Regions from separate parts of the Homo sapiens genome. Here region 1 is linked to region 2. Evidence: promoter capture Hi-C in 16 types of primary human blood cells and fetal thymus (Javierre and others, 2016). All regions are on one chromosome and are shown on one strand. Each heading gives the region's core, a stretch centred on a gene start or on the middle of the fragment in contact. The rest is flanking DNA. Distances are from core to core; before and after follow the strand shown.

Region 1 (6,329 bases), core at 1,970-4,469, 630 kb before region 2:
AATATGGTGAAACCCTGTCTCTACTAAAAATACAAAAATTAGCCCGGCGTTGTGGCACGCGCCTGTAGTCCTAGCTCCTCAGGAGGCTGAGGCAGGAGAATTGCTTGAACCTGGGAGGTGGAGGTCGCCATGAGCCGAGATTGTGCCACTGCACTCCAGCCTGAGTGACTGAGTGAGGTTCCACCTCAAAAAAAATTAATAATAATAATAGTCAGAGTGGGTGGCAAACTTCTTGGATTTTCTAGCAAAGGCTATCAAACTAGAACTTCCTGGGAATCTTCCTTCAAAACTATTCTGAAAGCTTACTCCCAATCCACCAGAACAGGAGCATTTATTTGAAATGAATTTTAGCAATATGAGCAGTCCGTAGGAGACATAATGGAGAGGTATATACTTGTTATTAAAACATCACGATTAACCAGTTTCTTGGATATTAATTTTTCCTCTTTATTGGTGATTTATTCTTAGTCCTAGATCCAAGTATCCCATTTGTAGAAATACTTCTGGCTCTTTATTTGACTAATCCATACCTTCCCCTTCATCCTCCTCACCACTTTATAACAGAGGATACATAATTTCCCTTGGTTAATCCTGTGTTAGAGTCAGGATTTGACCTAAGTTTGACTTCAAATTCGGGACTCATATATTCCAACTAGTTATTACAGTGAGTCAGACCTTTCATAAAATAATCACTCCTTTCCTTTCCAGACTCATCTGTCATCATTAGTCTACATGTCTCACTCCTCCCCTCCAAATTGAAGTACTGAGATAATTCAGAATTTTCAAAAATTACCATGGATATTTATTCAGAATGAGCCAAACTGTTAGGTTTGAGGGCACAGTCCACATACTGCCATGTATGCACAAGACTTCTGACACAGTTTTAAAGGAGCTAGAGTCCAACTAGAGTCCAACTACAGAGTTAGTGTGAAGAGTCCATACAAGACCACCCTCACTTCTGACACCAAATACAAGTTTGGAGGTTCTCCAAACCACTCTAAGTTTTGAAAAGTTACTAGAAGTTTTCACAAAACTCACTGAAAGCTATGATGTTAATGGTTTATTACAGGGAAAGGGGACAGATAAAAATCAAGCAAAGGAAGAGGTGCATAGGGCAGTGTCTGGAAGAATTCCAAACATCAAGTTTTTGTTTTACTCAACATGCATATTTCATTATCAGTTTTTGATAGCATGCATGGAATACTGCCAACCAGGGAAGCTCACCAGAGCTCTGCTGCCCAGAGTTTTTATTGGGGCTTCATTCTGCAGGCATGCTTGTCAATTGCCTATGTAGTTGATCTCAGTCTCTGGGTTGACTGATACCATGAGCCCAAAGTCCCTATCCTAAATCACATGATTGGTCCTAACGTAGCCAGCTTCTGCTGTAAGACTATGGAAATCAACTTCTATCCTCAAGAAAAACACTCCTATCAGCTACAACAGATTATCTCCCAAAAGCCAGACCTGATTTAGGGCAAGGCCAAATTCTTTACTACACATTAATCCTGCTTGTTTGTTTTTGGACATAGAATATTATTCTGTTTGTATATCTGGGAAATATTGTTCCTTTGTGATTCAGTTCAAGTGACAGCTACATCATGAGGCATTCCCTGTAAAACCTTTCTACCTCTTTCCCATATACAGTTAAATCTCCCTTTTTCTCTGCTCTCTTTAGTGTCTTTTCAATACCTCTGCTATAGCTGGTATAGCACATTTTATAATAACTTTTACTTCTTCCCTCTCTATAATGTGATCCACTAGTAGTCAGGGACTTAACGAGTATTTATCTACTCATCACCAATGTCTGAAACCATTGCTTACACAGAACCAGTGCTCATGAATAGCATGCCAGGCAGAATGGAAACGTGAGATGGCACAAAGAACTCTTGCTGCCACCATGATGTTGGGTGAATATCCAGATTCCTTCTACATGAGAAGCCAACTTTTTTCTCATGATGCATTTCTCATTGTTGTCCTGCATGCAGTGGGTTGATCCAGTGGGCTTCAACTCTTCTGCTTGGAGAATAAGGTCTTTAGAGGAGCATTCATGACATCTCGGTGTTATGATAGTATGTTTCTCACCTTTACTCAAAGTAGAGGATACACTGGAACTACTCTTAAGGAGAGGACAACACCTTCTTTCTCCTCTTCCTTGCTAATGGAGAAGAAAATGGGAACTCTTATTGCCCTCATTTGGACCATTGAGTCATGAGTTTTATGTAAATTTTGGGAGTTTGTGGGTAGGGAGTCAGGGGAGTGGGGTTGCAGAGCTTCTTCTGTGAAGCTTCCTGATTGACAAATGGTTTTTAAGAACTGCTTGATAGCTCCACTCCTCGTCTCTGGGTCTCTGGCTCCACCATATATGCAAGATGAAAACCCAGTTGATATACTTTCAGACATGGGATTCCATTTTACCTATCAAGTATTTTATGCTTATTTGAAACTAAATTCTACAGGCTTTGTAACAGGGCATCTTTAATGTTTTTCTATATAATTGCTGTGATAAATCAACATAAAAGATGGTAGACAAACCCCTTATAGCTTCTCCTGCAACTTAGGAGAAGCAGCCTACAAACAGCCATGGAGGGGCATAAGGCTCTGGTAATTCCATTAAGAGTCAAAGAGGAAATCTAGTAGCAACACTCTTAGTGACATTGGATGCCCTGACTTGAAAACCTATTGTATTTTCTGCCTCCTAGGAGAGTTCCCATGTGATTAATAAACTTGTTAAGTCTCTTTGGCATGGACCTCCTATGGAATGATAGGAACTTTTGATCTCCACCAAGTTTATACTTGGTGGAGATTAATTGATAAAAATATTTCCAGATTGACTAAAAATAAAATAAAATTGCTTTGGTTGGAAAGAAAACAAGTGGAAAATTTCAGGTTGGAATTATCTGGGCATAGAAATTATAAACTGATTCATAACTTGGAGAAAGTTGTCCAGATTTTGTCTCTCTGATTCTAAACACAGGAAAGTCAATGCATACTGATTATAGAGTGTAATGGCTGAGTCATTCCCAGATACGCTGATTTGCTGGATAATATTTTTCTCTGAGAAAATAGTCACATTTTGTGTGAACATTAGCTGCTGTATCCTACAATATGATTGATTCTGGCATGTTTCCTCCCTAGAGGAAATTATTATGCTTCATTCTCAGCACAATGGAGCAGTATTTCTGGCCAAGACCAACTGCTTCCATAACTAATGCCTTGGGCATGATGACACTATATCATATACCATTAATTGGTGATCATTTATTTCACGCTCTGAATAAGGTTCTCCTACTTTTGGGGAAGATGTAGATACAGTTTGCTAGAATGCTTACCTTTCTCGCTCCACTCTGATCCATACCTCCAAATCTGCCTCAAAGGCCCTATTATCAGTCCTTCATTTCCACCTAGAAGGAGGCTAGATTTCAAGTTGCTTAATTCTCAGTTGCTGTTAGTAGAATCTCTGGTGGAAGCACTAGATTATCAATCATGTCTCTGTCCACCCCAACTGTGTGAGGCTCTTTCAGTTATCATCCCAAATAGATTTTACTACTTCACTAAAGAGGGTATCAGTGTCTGAGGATGATACCTGCCTAACAGAGCATTTGCCTTCTCTGGTTTAACCTTGGCCAGCAACAACTCTCATAGCCAGTGAACCTTGTAGTACTGTCCCACCCAATTTAGAACAGTTAGGACATAAATAAGAAGTAAGAGTGTTGTTACTGGTCAACTCTTAAAATGGTCTTTCAAACACATACACCTTAAATTTATTCATGTAGCCCACCTCTTCGATAAAAAGTCTACTTTGTGAATAAGAGGTTGAGCTTTTAGTCAAGGACTAGCAAATGCCAGAGTTTCCATTCTCCAATTATTAAATTTTTAAAAGTATATTACCACTCTTTCAACTTCTGAGCCACCATCAATGTGTGATGTGCAATGGTTATTAAAGTCAGCAGAATTTAAATTGAGATGTTTGATTAAGACAAACATGCTTAATCTCACTAAATATTAGAGTCACCTGGGGAAGCCTTAAAAGGAAAATCGATTACTTGAATTGGAATTTCTGAATTAAAAAAAAAATACCTCACCAGGTTGTTCTAATAGTCAGCTAAGGGGGAGAACACCTGGTTGAGGGTTTAGACTACCTACTCCAAGCTTCCCTGGAGGTGATAGGGTCACTCGTCTCTCTCCCACAGCCACTATGGGCATCTTTGAACACATGGGAGGGAGCTTTGTGCTAACCAAATGCTTACAAGTCAAATGAATGAGGATCCAGGTGTAATCTTTCACTGACAGCATGAAACACCAGCTAAACTTTCAGAGCATCTTTACTTCTCTAAATCTCCTGAAAGGAGGCCAGCAGATAAGGACAACAGTTGCTCTGATGAGAAACTATATCTACTGTAAAGTTAGCAGACGAATAGGCGCAGGCACAACAGAACAGAACCCTACTTCTTAGGGAACATATTCAATTCTGACTCATTGAGATAGTCTGTCACTCTAAGGATTTAGTTTTTTTTTTTTCTCCAAAGTCTTCCCAAATACAATCACATTATCTAAATATTCTAACACTTGTAAATCAGTCACTGGTAGTAAATGGTATCTGGAGAAACCCCAATCCATTGTTTTAGGATAGGAAAAAATTATTCTGAACAAATGAATACTAAATTCTTCATACCTGTTCTGGCCTCCTAATAGCCATTCTTTGAAACTAACAATAACTACTGTCTCTACTAGAAAGCCCAGGGCATACTAACAACAAGGTATATCGGTCGGACTTAGGCCATTTGTTTAGTATATAATAGTCAATATCTATTTTATTTCTAGATTTTTCAGTAGTCATTTGGACTCCAAAAGTCAGTTCTGTGATGATTACAAGGTCTTTCGTATGGTATCATGATTTTTTAACCATACTTTATAAATGATCTAGTGTCTTATAATTGTATTTAATACTATTCTTTTTTCCAACAACCCATCCCAGTCTTAGAGGCTGTTGCATCCCTGTCAGGTAGATCCCTATTTTGTCTCCTTCTAATGCACAATTCTAAGGAGTTATTGAAGTCAAAATTGTCTAAACTCAGCTTTCAGGCTGCTCCCATTTGAAATTACTAGCTGGGACATGTTGGAAATTACACCTTTGGGTAAGTCTTCTGATATCTGCCAGTCTCCACAATCATGTGGATAAGTGTGGTCATATTCAGTTATTAGAAAAACTTCACTGAAAATTCTAATTCAAAGCCTTTTCTGCCTTAAGATTATACCCTCCTTTCTCTTCTGCTCTCAGATTCCTCTAAGGTCAGATTCATGTTGCTGTAGTCCCTGGTCTTTGACGTCATGTAGGTAACAAGTCTCCTTACAGTGGCCTGCATGGGCAACACGTATGAGTTCCTTGGAGGACCTGTAGGAAGTCTCCTTGATGCAGAGTTATCTGGGTCTTGTGTTTTCAAGCAGACGTTTTTGAGCCACTCAGCAGCTCCAACTTGTGCTTCTATGATCATCTTACTTAGGTGATGGGTCTCTGAACTGAGGACTAGTAAAATGGTTCAAGCCTAATTCCCCTTGATCAATGAAAAACTTGCATGTCTTTGCCAGGCTAATAAAAGTTACATTGCTTTTGCTTCTTATATATTTGCTGATATGGAGTAATCTAGCAAGCTTTTAGTCTTCTCAGTCTTCCGGGTAAGAAACAGTTTGAGTCACTACATTTACATATACATTCAAACTTCCAGGAGTGTATGTCTGGTCCCCTAAGAAGTCTCTTATTTTGCTCTATCCTTTAGATTGACATCTTCTTTGCTCATTACGTAGCAGAAAATAAGGGATCATCCTCATTTAATCTTCAAGAACTTCCTTTGAGAAAGAAACTAATTAATTGCCCTATTATTGGTCTGGTATTAAACCCTCCTTCTATTCTATCTGCTGTGGCTAAAGAGATGGATTGTGTGGTAGCTTAGTCTGATCAGGCTGCTACAACAAAATACCTTAGAATAATTTATAAACAACAGAAATGTATTGCTCATAGTTGTGGAGTCTGGGAAGCTCAAAATTAAGATTCGGTGTCCAGTGAAGGCTCATTCTTTATAGATTATGCCAATGGCAGAAGAGGCTAGAGGCTTCCTCCACCTTCTTTTATAAGATTATCAATTTTATCCTAATCACTTCATAAAGGCCCTACTTCTTAATAGTACCACACTGAGTATTAGGTTGCAACATAAGAATTTTGAAAGAAAATCTACATTCAGGACATAGCATGTGATCCTTGTTCATTTAGGAGTTTATCTGGGAGCAGAATCTCTAATTACAGGGCATGGGCAGATTTGTTAAGGTTGAGTGAG
Region 2 (6,433 bases), core at 1,729-4,228:
CGTTATTGGCTATGTTGTATTATGCCTGGTGTCTAGTGTTGAAAAGAGTCATTACCTACGTTGCTAAAAGTCATAATAAAATATCTTTTTATTTTTTATTTATTTATTTTGAGACAGAGTCTCACTCTGTTGCCCAGGCTGAAGTACAGTGGCGCAATCTCAGCTCACTGCAACTTCCACCTCCCGGGTTCGAGTGATTCTCCTGCCTCAGCCTCCTGAGCAGCTGGGATCACAGGCGAACTCCACCATGCCCAGCTAACTTTTTTTTTTTTTTTTTTTTTTTTTTTGTATTTTTGGTAGAGATAGGGTTTCACCATGTCGGTCAGGCTGGTCTGGAGCTCCTGACCTTGTGACCTGCCTGCCTCGGCCTCCCAAACTGCTGAGATTACATGCGTGAGCCACCGTGCCTAGTTTAAAATATCTAATTTCAAAAACATATGAAGATAGAATAAATATTGTCAGGCTAAAATATTTTTTCAAACATTAATACTTACTTCCAATTCTAATAAAGGAAAATGTGTACAAGCTAAACTGTGATTTAAGCATATCCACAAAATGTACAGCACAACCTAAAGACTACTTCAAAGTCCAGTCCTGCTACTTTCTAGCTTAGACAACTGTTAAATTTTCTGAGGCTCTATTTTCTTACTTGTGAAAAAAAGGAATAGTTACTTCTCCAAGGGTTGCCAGGTGTTTTGGCTGTGAAAAGATCTAGTAGGCACAGAGTACGCTTCAATCGAGTGTACGAGTATGTGCATTTGAGACGATCCAATCTTTCCAGATGAGCTTTCCTTTCAAGTGCCTAGCTGTCTGCCCCCTACCCACCCCTCACCATCCTTGTACTGCTACGTGCCAATAAAACCACAGAACAGAGGTCACAAGCTGACTGCTCACAAGCCCAATACAGTGCACACTCAGGTTTTGTTTTAGCCCACAGGGTATCAGGTCTACACTGGTTTGTAAGGTATTCGATTTAGACACCAACAAATGAAATCAGAGGAGACATATAAAGGCAGTAGCAGTGCACAGGCTCCAGGATCTGCCCAGCTCCAGCAACCTGATGTAACATCTCCATGCCTCAGTTTCCTTGTCTATTAAGAAAAAGGTGGGGAAGAAGTAGTAGACAGACCTACTTTACTCATGGAGCCATTGTGAGTAATCAAGCTAAAACACACAGAGTGTTTAGAACAGTACATGCAAATCAGCGTTTAATGTTCTGAAGACACTGGCCCATCCCAAGATGAGGCCCATGACTCTGGCAAGCTTCCAGACACAACTGTCCCCCTGGGTGGGCCCTTTAGCTTTCCATTTCTCCATACTCCCTCTACTCCCAAGTGTCTTACACAGAGTCCAACCCATTTGTACCACCTGCCACGAGGGGACCACCTGTAGGGCTATCCTTTTGGCCTTGGACTTTGCAACTCCTGGCATTAAGAGGCAAGCAAGCAGCTCCAGTCAAAGAAATTATCATGTTCTCCCCAGTCATACTCAATAACATCTATGTGAAACACCCCACGGGGAAGTCAAGAAGCAACAAATTATCATGTTCTCCCCAGTCATACTCAATAACATCTATGTGAAACACCCCACGGGGAAGTCAAGAAGCACAAAAGGGACCCGGAACAATTAATGGGTGTTTTTGAGACTGTCAGAGTAAACAGCATCTCCTGCAATAAATCAGGGAAGTCTTGAGAGTCGCACCTTAGAGATACGGTTCCTGCCAAATCATCAATTTAATCAGCAAAATGTTTACATCTGGAGGACTCTGCAATGTGCCCTGGTAATAACCAGGCTCTAGCGGCTCCTCCTCACATCCACTTGTCCTTAAGTTTATTTACCTACCAGATCTCACTGCAGCTGAAGCTAACAAGCCTCTCTATGCACATCAGTATTCTTAGCCCCTCAATCAAAGCATCAGTGAGGACTATTGGGGCCCGCTGGGGGTCTGAAGAAGAGTCCCTCTGGCAGGGAGAAATGGCGAACTTCTCTAAACAAGCTCTGTGTCTCACAGGTCTTTGCCAAGGATCAACAGTGACTAGCAAGTCTGTGAGACAGAAAGTAAGAAAATACTCTTCATGAGGGAAATAACTGTTTGGGTATGTGTCAGTCACTACTCCATCTCCAATGTCCAGAACACTGCCTCCTACGTAGCAAGTACATATAAAGCAACTAGAATAGTAACGGGCATGTCATAAGCCAGTTATAATTATTATAACTAAATGTATAGCTATGTTTTTAAGGCAAGCTGAACTTTACTAGTTGTTACCCATAATTTGGCAATGGAACAGCCTAAGTAAATACACTTAAAATGCAGGAACCTTATAAAGTAAGCTTTTCAGCCCCTTGTCTTCTTTCTTTCTGGTTCTGAGTTATACACTTTGAAGAGGACTTTGTAGCCATCTTCTGAAAACTTCCAAATCTAATGGCACTAATAGTCAATGGGAAAGACAGTGGAGCACTGCAGGACATCACCAATTATATTACAGAGCCTGAAAGGAACTAAAAATATGAAGACTTTCAAAATAGTAACACAGCACAAACACCAAAATGTTAACACACGAGGAGTTTATCTGAAGTCCTACTTGTGATCTATTTATCAGTAATGTTCAAATATGGGAAAATTAATGTGGGAAAAATGACAATGCAACACCTCTTATCTAGAATATGTCGACATTGGTGTCAAAATACTTCTTTATTCTGTTAATTCCGCATTTCCAGGTAGCTCCAACTACCCATCTCTGCACGTTATACTGTGAAGCTGCTGACAATTTTCTGAGGGTGCTTCAGAAAGAACCATATCTTACACATCAGTTCTCCACCTCATACCACATGTTGAATTTGACAATGGCAAAGGTTAGAAAAGAAAACAGGTTTTTGCCTGGCTGTGCATCAGATGATGTAGGGATGTGGGGAAAAGTAGGAGGAGAAATAAGAAAGCAGGACTGTTTTTGCATTACTGGAGGAAAGGAACTAGCTCAGAAGTCAGCCTAACACCCACAGAGATTAAAACGTCTCTTCCTTCCTCTTTGTTTCCACGTCCCAGTCTTCAATAAATTCTATCTGACAACAGCAGCAGAGGGACCCACTATCTTGTGGTTTCTGTCAAGTTCCTGATTTTCATCCGTAGTTGAAGATGAGCAAGAACTCTGTAACAGTGTTACCTTGGAGCCTACAATGAGAGGTATTTCAAAATGAGTGAAGCATGACTCTCACAGATGAAGGCCTAGACGCAGGTAAGAAAACAGCTTTTCCATGAAATGACTTGCATGTATGTGAATGGTGCATGGGAACAGAAAAGATTTCTGAGCTGGGCAGCAACAAAGCTGAGGAACACTGAACCATTGCCACTCACATTTTTCTCAGTAGGTTACTTTTTGTTTGACAACTATAATTGGTATATTAATATATTTCCCCATGCTAATATGGGGATCCAATACTGAAATATTATCATTTATGATTTAGGATTTCCAATCGTGGCTGTCAAAATATATCTGTGATGAAGAGATATCAAGGAAAATGTTTAAAAGGTATTCATCCAGGACAAACATTTCAAAAGCTCGTAAATGTGTATTAAAATTGCTTCTCAAAACTACAAAATCGATTAGCATAATACTTAGGTCAGTATGTCTTTGTTTGCAATTGCATATGTGTACAGATATATAGTTGCATTTACTTGTACATACACTTATATAGGTAAAAGTTTTTATCTTTGTCATTATTAGGATAAGTTAACCCCATTAACACCTACTAAAATAAAATGCCTTTAAATTGTAAATCACAGAAATATCTGTCCTAGGCATAGCAAATATTTGAGTTCATATGCTACTTATTTATAGTCTATGACTAATCAGCTAAATTACTTACAATTCTTTAAACATTATAAATTAAATTACATTCAGGAGAATTAGCACAGACCCACAATGTCAGCTTATTCAACCAAGCCCATGCAATCCATCTTGTCTACATATACTTTGTTAACCAAGGACAATCAATCCTACGGAGAAAATGAATCAAAGATCACACTAGTAAAAAAATAAATAGTTTGTATATTCATCTTTCTAAAACATACAAACTTGATAATCAGTTTTAGCACTAAAAAAAAACCTAGCCATTAAGTTAAAAAGAAAACAATGCACTCGGAAAATACCAAAATGGCATATTTTATGATTTGTAAACATGCAATGAATTTTATATTTCGGTAAAATTTATGAATACTATATATACAAACATGCATACAATTGTGTGCACACAATTAACACATTGGTATATATGAATGAACTCTATATTGTCATGTCTGGAAAAAAAAAAAACAAGGAGGCCAGGCATGGTGGCTCACACCTGTAATCCCAGCACTTTGTGAGGCCAAGGTGAGTGGCCTCAGGAGAGGCTGGTCAGGAGTTCAAGACCAGCCTGGCCAACGTGGTAAAACCCCTATCTCCACTAAAAATACAAAAATTAGCTGGGTGGTAGTGGTGCATGCCTGTAATCCCAGGTACTCAGGAGGCTGAGGCAGGAGAATCGCTTGAGTCTGGGAGCCAGAGGTTGTGGTGAGCTGAGATCGGGCCACTGCACTCCAGTCTGGGCGAGAGAGTGAGACCCTGTCTCAAAAACAAAAACAAACAAAAATAAAACCAAAAGAACAGTGGGGAGATTCCAAGGTACTCAAAGCATGAAGACACAGGGGAAGTGGGCCGGGTGCAGAGGAAGAAGTATAATTTCCTGAAGTATTACGGTGCCCACTTCACAGTTGAAGCAGGTACAGAGGGTGTGACTATCCTGAGCAAGGCCACCTATGATGCTTCTAAAGTGCTGAACAGAAGAAGAACACGGCTCCCTAGAAGAACGTTCACTCTATAAAGTGCTTCTGAGTGAATTTAGATGTTGAGGCTTCCCTAAGCCTAAGGCTCTATGAACTCAGAAGTCACAGGTTTATTCCATTTGGCCCCAGGATATCCTTAGAAGTTAGGTCGGTCACAAGTGAGCTGTTTCAACCTCCCAGTGTGAGCAGTCTCTAGAATACCAAAAACAGACCAGTCCAGGAGGTAGGCTGACACCAACACAAGCATATTCTGCCATCATCATGAGCATCCTCACCTGCAGAAGGCTGTCTAGTGGAGGATGATGGACAATAAGGAGTGTTTCCTTTAATTGAAAATTATATCAGTACAAGAGTGCCAAGTTTGTTTGGATAGAGCAGTGGATCTCAAAGTGCAGATACTATACCAGCTGAATCAACATCACCAGTGAGCTTGTCAGACATGCAAATTATTGACCCCAAACCTACAGAATCAGAAACAATGGGGGTGGAGCCCAGCAATCTCTTTTAACAAGCCCTCCAGGTAATTCTGTTGCACATTCAGTTTTGGGTGACCCCATGTCCTGGGACAGATCCAGTTTTCACCTGTTGTCTGGGCATAATTGAAAATAGTGCCTCCTTTCTATCTCAAAAGTGTCCTTGATTGTATAATAAATTAATTATGATCATCAATATGATCACCCTGCCAGTTCATACTGGATGCTAAGAAGGCATTTCATTGGCCAGATGCTGTCTACTACTTGGGATTTCAAATTAGCTTCAAGTCTGGTGCTACACCCATAGCCTCCCCACCATCACCCCGCAATACTAAAAGATGCATTGCCTCCTAAAAGTCTGAGCAGCACAGCTAGATAAATCAACTTCAGTAAAAATATCCTATCTTAATGAGAAAAAATACCTACAACCAAACTATGTAAAATCTATTTTAAATTCTCAGCTTCCTAAGTAGCATGAGAATCAGGTCTCCAAAACCCTCTTTACTAAATTTTCTGGTTCTTCTTTACAGGGAATTTTCTTTTCCTCCCTAGCACCCTTAAAAAGGATAAATCTAGTAATTAATGAATGCTATTTTTATAGTAATCATTTGGTTACATTAATTCACCGAAACACCAAGTTTACCACAGCAAAGCTTCTCAATCCACCTGTTCTTTAAAGTCAAAGTGAAATACTGGTCATATGCTTTTAGATCTGATTAGATTCCTTTGAAATTTTTGTCTTTACTCGGTATAAATTAAATTGCTAGCTTTTTATTTTTCACTGAAACCTCCCATCTGTTGTTTTTGAAAAGCATCAAAGGCCTTAGATATCATGTTCTGACCCCTCATCATTCAAATAAAAGAACAGCCAGGGACGGGTGCTGGCTTCTACCCAATTATATGACATCTGCTTTTGAGGTTAAGATACCAAAGAAAAGAGGAAAAGATCAGTTAGTTGGCTTCTGAGGTTGGCCCAAAGCGATCTGTACACTTGTGGTGTGATCACTTGGGGAAAAAAATCTGATCCTCGATACTCTCCAGGATCATACACACGCAATTATTTTCATCACATCACTTATAGCCTCTAGACTCTAGGAGCCATTTATACCAAGCAGATGGGAAATGTGCCACCTTCTATAGT

The links. The method cuts DNA at HindIII sites, captures the fragments that hold promoters and counts their contacts. A CHiCAGO score of 5 or more calls a contact.
Region 1: a fragment that was not itself captured here is called in contact with the fragment with the promoter of P2RY14 in region 2 in 1 of 17 cell types (monocytes); the score reaches 5.1 in monocytes.

What each region holds. Positions count from the first base shown.
Region 1 is chr3:151,906,583-151,912,911 of GRCh38, reverse strand. All of the region lies in intron 1 of AADACL2-AS1 (AADACL2 antisense RNA 1), which reads left to right. Among named protein-coding and RNA genes, the nearest start is that of AADACL2-AS1, 18 kb to the left of the region's middle. The HindIII fragment of the contact is 1,865 bases long and covers 2,287-4,151 here.
Region 2 is chr3:151,275,087-151,281,519 of GRCh38, reverse strand. It overlaps P2RY14 (purinergic receptor P2Y14), which reads left to right and starts at 2,978. Exons shown (of 3, transcript NM_014879.4): 1 at 2,978-3,233. All of the region lies in intron 16 of MED12L (mediator complex subunit 12L), which reads right to left. The HindIII fragment of the contact is 3,614 bases long and covers 2,334-5,947 here.